2 separate regions of the Homo sapiens genome follow, and region 2 is linked to region 1. The links are contacts of gene promoters, found by promoter capture Hi-C in human tissues and cell types (Jung and others, 2019). All regions are on one chromosome and are shown on one strand. Each heading gives the region's core, a stretch centred on a gene start or on the middle of the fragment in contact. The rest is flanking DNA. Distances are from core to core; before and after follow the strand shown.

Region 1 (4,037 bases), core at 112-2,611:
ATGTGCCATCACATCTGCCTAATTTTTGTATTTTTATTTTTATTTACTTGTTTATTTTTTTGAGAGAGTCACCCTCTGTCACCCAGGCTGAAGTGCAGTGGCACGATCTCGGCTCACTGCAACCTCTGCCTCCTGGGTTCCAGTGATTCTCCCTCACTCTCCCGAGTAGCTGGGATTAAGGTGCACGCCACCACACCGGGTTAATTTTTTTTTTTTTTTTTTTTGAGATGGAGTCTTGCTCTGTCGCCCAGGCTGGAGTGCAGTGGTTGGGATTACAGGTGCGCACCACCACACCTGGCTATTTTTTTTTTTTTTTTTTTTTTTGAGACATAGTCTCGCTCTGTCACCCAGGCTGGAGTGCAGTGGCTCGATCTCGGCTCACTGCAACCTCCGCCTCCTGGGTTCAAGTGATTCTCCTGCCTCGGCCTCCTGAGTAGCTGGGACTACAGGTGCAAGCCACCATGCCCAGATAATTTTTGTGTTTTTAGTAGAGACGGGGTTTCACCATGTTGGTCAGGCTGTTCTGGAACTCCTGACCTTGTGATCTGCCCGCCTCGACCTCTCAAAGTGCTGGGATTACAGGCATGAGCCACCGCACCTGGCCTAATTTTTTGTGTTTTTAGTAGAGACGGTGTTTTGCTATGTTGGCCAGGCTGGTCTTAGACCTCTTGCCTGAAGTGATCCTCCCGCCTCAGCCTCCCAAAGTGTGGGATTACAGGTGTGAGCCATCGTGCCTGGCTAATTTTTGTATTTTTAGTAGAGATGGGGTTTTGCCATGTTGCTCCGGTTGGTCTCAAACTCCTGGGCTTAAGTGATCCACCTACCTCAGCCTCCCAAAGTGCTAGGATTATAGGCATGAGCCATCATGCCTGGCCCTTCATCCTAGATCTTAGGAGATCTAGTATGTTGTTGATCTGGTATTTGGTATGTTGGAGATCTGGTATTTGGTATGTTGGGAGATCTTGTATTTGGTATGTTGGGAGAGCTGGTATTTGGTATGTTAGGTGATCTGGTATTTGGTATGTTGGAGATCTGGTATTTGGTATGTTGGAGATCTGGTATTTGGTATGTTGGTGATCTGGTATTCGGTATGTTGGGAGATCTGGTATTTGGTTTGTTGGTGATCTGGTATTTGGTTTGTTGGTTGATCTGATATTTGGTATGTTGGGAGATCTGGTATTTGGTATGCTAGGTGATCTGGTATTTAGTATGTTGGAGATCTGGTATTTGGTATGTTGGAGATCTGGTATTTGGTATGTTGGAGATCTGGTATTTGGTATGTTGGTGATCTGGTATTTGGTATGTTGGTGATCTGGTATTTGGTATGTTGGGAGATCTGGTATTTGGTTTGTTGGTGATCTGGTATTTGGTTTGTTGGTTGATCTGATGTTTGGTATGTTGGGAGATCTGGTATTTGGTATATTGTCTTGATGTGTAAAAATCTCTGGGAATTCAAACAGAAACAGTTTGAAATAGTGATTTCAATATTGAGAAAGTGAATGACTCAAATGACTGTATTATAGATCCTTTCTACAAACTAAAGCTTTCCCAATATTTTGCTTTTGAATGGAAGGACCTGAAACAAATTTTGTTGTCATCTGCTTGATGATTAGGTGGTATTGAGTGACTCTGCTAGAACTTCTTCCTTTCCCAGGTACTTATGTGAATAAGATACCTCAGCATTACCATGTGTGAGATTGAAACGTTGAAATAAAATTGAGCCTAGCCAGGTGTGGCGGTATGTACCTGTAGTCCCAGCTACTCAGGAGACTGAGGCAGGAGGATCACTTGAGCCTAGAAGTTTGAGGCTGCAGTGAACTACGATCATGCCTGTGAATAGCTACTGCACTCCAGCCTGGGCAACACAGTCAGACTGTCTCAAAAAAAAAAAAAAAAAAAAAAGACAACAATAACAACGAAAACACAGCCTAAGCATAATGGCTCATACCTGTAATCCCAGCACTTTGAGAGGCCAAGGCTTGAGCCCAGGAGACCAGCCTGGGCAACAAAGTGAGTCCCTGTCTCTACAAAAAATTAGTTGAGCATGGTCATGCACACCTGTATTCCCATGTACGTGGGAGGCTGAGGCAGGAGACTGCCTGAGCCCAAGAGGTCGAGGCTGCAGTGAACCACATTTGCACCACTGCACTCCAGCCTAGGCAACAGAGCAAGACTCTGTCTCAGAAAAACAACCAACCAGCCAACAAAAACATTGATGCTTATCACTGTCTCACTCTAGCATGAGAACATCTCTCTCAATATAAGTTGTATTTCCTATACAATTTTGTGTCTTATATTTAAGAATTCTTGGCCGGGTGCAGTTGCTCACGCCTGTAATCCTAGCTAGCACTTTGGGAGTCTGAGGTGGGTGGATCACCTGAGGTCAGGAGTTTGAGACTAGCCTGACCAACATGGAGAAACCCTGTCTCTACTAATAATACAAAAATTAGCTGGGCGTGGTGGTGCATGCCTATAATCCCAGCTACTCGGGAGGCTGAGGCAGGAGAATCGCTGGAACCCGGGAGGCAGAGCTTGCGGTGAGCTGATATCGCGCCACTGCACTCCAGTCTGGGCAACAAGAGTGAAACTCCATCTTGGGGGAAAAAAAAAATGCTGGGCGCAGTGGCTCACGCCTATAATCCCAGCACTTTGGGAGGCTGAGGTGGGTGGATCACCTGAGGTCAGGTGTTCAAGATCTGCCTGGCCAACATGGTGAAACCCTGTCTCTGCTCAAAATTCAAAAATTAGCTGGGCGTGGTGGCAGGCACCTATAATCCCAGCTACTGGGGAGGCTGAGGCTGGAGAATCGCTTGAACCCGGGAGGCGGAGATTGCTGTAAGCTGAGATTGTGCCATTGCACTCCAGCCTGGGCTGGGCAACACAGCAAGACTGCATCTCAAAAAAAAAAAAAAAAAAAAAAAAGGGATAAAGTACATATTGTATTAGGAAAGCATTATGTGAGAGAAGTAAAAAGAAAATACAAGTTCAAGGAGAAAAAGGAGTGATGTAAAATTTCCTGTGCTAAAGAACAGCTTACTTTTTCTTTTTTTCTTTCTTTCTTTTTTTTTTTTTTTTGAGAGGGAGTCTCACTCTGTCGCCCAGGCTAGAGTGCAGTGGCATGATCTTGGCTCACTGCAACTTCCGACACCTGGGTTCAAGCGATTCTCTTGCCTCAGCCTCCCAAGCAGCTGGGATTACATGCACACGCCACCACGCCTGGCTATTTTTTGTATTTTTAGTAGAGACAGGGTTTCACCATGTTGGCCAGGCTGGTCTCAAACTCCTGACCTCAAGTGATCCGCCCGCCTCTGCCTCTCAAAGCGCTGGGATTACAGGCGTGAGCCACTGCACCTGGCCTCTTTTTCTTTCTTTTTTTTGAGACAGAGTCTCACTCTGTCACCCAGGCTGGAGTGCACTGGGTTGATCTCAACTCACTGCAATCTCTGCCTCCGAGGTTCAAGCAATTCTAATGCCTCAGCCTCCTGAGTTGTTGGGATTACAGGTACGCATCACCATGCCCGGCTAATTTTTGTACTTTTAGTAGAGATGGGGTTTTGCTTTGTTGGCCAGGCTGGACTCAAACTCCTGGCCTCAAGCAATCTGCCCACTGCCTCGGCCTCCCATAGTGCTGGGATTACAGGCATGAGTCACTGTGTCCAGCTTCAATATTTCTAATACAAAAAAAAATTGCAAAGAAATCACATCCTTCGAAACTGTTTTTATATTTTTTTGTAGAGACAGGGTCTCAGTCTATCACTCAGGCTGGAATGCAGTGGTATGATCATTATTCACTGTAACCTTGAGCACCTGGCCTCAAGCAATCCTCCCACCATAGCCTCCCAAAGTGCTTGGATTACAGATATGTCCCACTGTGCCCAGCCTTTTGCAACTATTTAAACATGGTTAAAATTTTTTTTAAATCAAATTTTAAAATTTCCCCTTTTTTTTTTTTTTTGAGACAGAGTTTTGCTCTTGTCTCCCAGGTTGGAGTGCAATGGTGTGATCCCTACTCACTGCAACCTCCGCCTCCTGGGTTC
Region 2 (3,961 bases), core at 80-2,579, 410 kb before region 1:
GGCCAGGTGTGGTGGCTCACACCTGTAACCCCAGCACTTTGGGAGGCCAAGGTGGACGGATCACCTGATGTAAGGAGTTTACGACCAGCCTAGCCAGCATTGTGAAACCCCCTCTCTACTAAAAACACAAAAATTAGCCAGGCGTGGCAGCAGGGGTCTATAATCCCAGCAACTGACTAGGGAGGCTGAGGCACCAAGAATAACTGGAACCTGGGATGCAGTGGTTGCAGTGAGTGGAGAGTGCGTCATTGCACTCCAGCCTGGGTGACAGAGGGACTCTGTCTCAAAAAAAGTGGGGGGTGCACGGGACTTGGTTGACCTGGATGGCATGCAAGGGGTGGGGAGGGACCAAGGAGGTGCTGGGTCTATGGGACTTGCTCCTATGTATCCATCAGTGATCTGGTTGGCGCCATGGAGGCTGGGGCGAAGGCGGAGGGGGGGTGGGGGGTAGCGGGGAGCTAGGTTGTAAATTGACAGTTGTCCCCAGGCAATCCCCTGGTATGGGAAAGTTCCAGAGGTCCCTGGTTTAAGCTTCGGTCCTTGGAACTAATAAGCGAACACATAATTAGATAAGCTTACAGTGTAGAGAGTGTCTGGTGGAGAGAAGGTAAAGGTTAATTGGATTTTTTTTTTTGACAGGTGTCATTCTGTCGCCCAGGGTGGAGTGCAGTGGCGTTATCGTGGCTCATTGCAGTCTTTACCTCCCAGGGCTCAGGTGATCCTCCCACCTCAGCCTCCCCAATGGCTGGGACTACAGGCCGATCTCGCCTGCCTCGGCCTCCCAAAGTGCTGGGATTACAGACGTGAGCCACAGCACCCACCCTATAATTGCATTCCTAAAGAGCTAAATAGGAGGTGGGGTGAAAGGAGAAAAGTAAAAATAATTCATTTTTCTAAGAAAATGGGTAGTTGGTCACACTCCTATTTACTAGGGCCTTTGCACATGTTCTCATCTGCACTGTGCTTCCCTCTCTTTTTCTATTTAACTATTTATCTTCCAGATCTCAGCTGCAGCCGCAGTTTCTTAGGATAACCTTCTCCAACTTCTCGAAGATACTCACCATGATTAATTGATTAGTGTGTTATACTAGGCAGATAGTTCCACGAAGAGAAGCTCTGTATCTCTCAGTCTCACTGTATGCGGAGTGGGTAGCTCTGCACCTAGGATGCTCAATAAGAACGGTATTTATGAACTGAACGACAGAAGGTTGAACGACTGCCCACTTATGCACTGAGCCTTCCGGAGGGACGAGTCTACAGGGGTCGCGCGTCGTAACGACGTCACTTCCGTCGGAAGGTTCTCATGAGGAGCCACTCAGATTCCTGTCACTTCTCAAAGCATCTCCGTCGTGAACATGGCCCTGCCACCATTCTTCGGCCAGGGTCGCCCAGGCCCACCGCCCCCGCAGCCGCCGCCTCCTGCTCCTTTCGGCTGTCCGCCACCGCCGCTGCCCTCCCCGGCTTTCCCGCCGCCTCTCCCCCAGCGGCCCGGCCCTTTTCCGGGGGCCTCCGCCCCCTTCCTTCAGCCTCCGCTGGCTCTGCAGCCCCGAGCCTCCGCGGAGGCCTCCCGCGGCGGAGGCGGCGCTGGCGCCTTCTACCCGGTGCCACCACCGCCGCTGCCTCCTCCGCCGCCCCAGTGTCGGCCCTTCCCGGGGACCGACGCCGGCGAGCGGCCGCGGCCACCGCCTCCCGGCCCGGGGCCGCCCTGGAGCCCGCGGTGGCCTGAGGCGCCGCCGCCGCCGGCCGACGTGCTCGGGGATGCGGCCCTCCAACGCCTGCGCGACCGGCAGTGGCTGGAGGCGGTGTTCGGGACCCCGCGGCGGGCAGGCTGTCCGGTGCCCCAGCGCACGCATGCCGGGCCCAGCCTTGGCGAAGTGCGCGCGCGATTGCTCCGGGCTCTGCGCCTGGTGCGGCGGCTGCGCGGCCTGAGCCAGGCCCTGCGCGAGGCCGAAGCCGACGGCGCGGCCTGGGTCCTGCTGTACTCCCAGACCGCGCCGCTGCGCGCGGAACTGGCCGAGCGGCTACAGCCGTTGACCCAGGCTGCCTATGTGGGCGAGGCGCGGAGGAGGCTGGAGAGGGTCCGGCGCCGCCGGCTGCGGCTTCGCGAGAGGGCCCGGGAACGCGAGGCCGAGCGGGAGGCAGAGGCCGCGCGGGCAGTGGAACGCGAGCAGGAGATTGACCGCTGGAGGGTGAAGTGTGTGCAGGAGGTGGAGGAGAAGAAGCGGGTGAGAGCAGCGGCCGCTCATGGGGGTAGGAGTGGTGGTGGTTGGAACCTGGAGCAGCAGGAGGCTTTAAACTTCCATTTCCCAGGGCTAAGCCTCTGTTTTACGCGCAAAATGAAGCGATAGCTAACCTTCCCAGCTCATACCACCATGTTAATTTTGTGTTAATGATGTGTGGTACACAAAAGTTCCAGGTGCACTGTAAAATCCTGTAAACACAAAGTATAGGATTACACGGTGGCACTGCACGAATGACAGGTCTCCCCTATCCTGCTCCAACATTGTCCACTTACTCTCAAAACCAGTAAGTGTCTAGTTCCTTGTGTCTTGTACTGCCCTAGGTGGTTTTAAGAATACAAAATACAGGCCGGGCGCGGTGGCCCACGCCTGTAATCCCAGCACTTTGGGAGGCGGAGGCGGGTGGATCACGAGGTCAGGAGTTCAAGACCAGCCTGGCCAAGATGGTGAAACCCCGTCTCTACTAAAAATACAAAAATTAGCCATGCGTGGTGGCGGGCGCCTGTAATCCCAGCTACTCTGGAGGCGGAGGTTGCAGTGAGCCGAGATCGCACCACTGCATTCCAGCCTGGGCGACAGAGCAAGACTCCGTCTCAAAAAAAAAAAAAATAGAGAACTTGGGGACCCTACCTCAAGGAATATATATACTCTAATTAGCTGATGGGGCAATAGTGATTTCCCTAGGATTCTTTTGTTTACAAGTTTTAAACCATGTATCCCCAGGTTCAGCAATGGTGTTTCGGAGCATTTACTATATATATATATATATATACACATACATACATATATATACACATACATATATGTATGTGTATATATATGTATGTATGTGTATGTGTGTATATATATGTATGTATCTGTGTATATATAGAGAGAGGTGTGCTAAGGTCATTACATATACCAGATTTTGAATCTTTATAACAGCCTTGAGAAGTAGGAAGTATTATGCTAATTTTACAGGTTAGGAAGTTGCATAGAGAGGTTAACTTGCCAACAGTCACACAACGAGTTTGTGGCAGTTTCCCATATTTGATCCCAAGTTGTCTAATTCCAAAGCGTATTGATCTCAGACTCTTTAAGCAGGGCCAGGGTAAAACTGGAAATTGTTCAGATGGTTTTCTAAGGCATTTTCTTTCTTTCTTTTTTTGAGATGGAGTTTCGCTCTTGTTGCCCAGGCTGGAGTGCAATGGCATGATCTTGGTTCACCACAACCTCCACCTCCCGGGTTCAAGCGATTCTCCTGCCTCAGCCTCCCGAGTAGCAGGGATTACAGGCATGCACCACTACACCCCAGCTAATTTTGTATTTTTAGTAGAGACAGGGTTTCTCCATGTTGGTCAGACTGGTCTCGAACTCCTGACCTCAGGTGATCCACCCGCCTCAGCCTGCCAAAGTGCTGGGATTACAGGCGTGAGCCACTGCACCTGGCCGTCTAAGGCATTTTCATTACCTTTGATTGCCTCTGGGGTTCCCTTTCCTCTTCCTCATTATTTCTATTATTATTACATTATAATACATAATGAAATAATTATACAACTCACCATAATGTGGAAACAGTGAGAGCCCTGAGATTGTTTTCCTGCAACTAGACAGTCCCATCTGGGGGTGATAGGAGACAGTGACAAATCATCAGGCTTTAGATTCTCATAAGGAGCCCACAACCTAGATCCCTTCCATGCGCAGTTCACTTCTTTGTGCTCCTATGAGAATGTAATGCTGCT

The links. The method cuts DNA at HindIII sites, captures the fragments that hold promoters and counts their contacts. A contact is called where the count stands out against the background at its distance.
Region 2: a contact is called between the fragment with the promoter of PDCD7 here and a fragment that was not itself captured in region 1, in 2 of the 25 tissues and cell types used here (dorsolateral prefrontal cortex and spleen).

Annotation. Positions count from the first base shown.
Region 1 is chr15:64,721,551-64,725,587 of GRCh38, reverse strand. No RefSeq gene overlaps it. Among named protein-coding and RNA genes, the nearest start is that of OAZ2, 20 kb to the right of the region's middle. The HindIII fragment of the contact is 6,629 bases long and covers 1-4,037 here.
Region 2 is chr15:65,131,176-65,135,136 of GRCh38, reverse strand. It overlaps PDCD7 (programmed cell death 7), which reads left to right and starts at 1,329. Exons shown (of 5, transcript NM_005707.2): 1 at 1,329-2,225. The coding sequence starts at 1,356. RefSeq lists an enhancer at 1,044-1,143 and silencers at 1,434-1,643, 1,704-2,103. The HindIII fragment of the contact is 7,758 bases long and covers 1-3,961 here.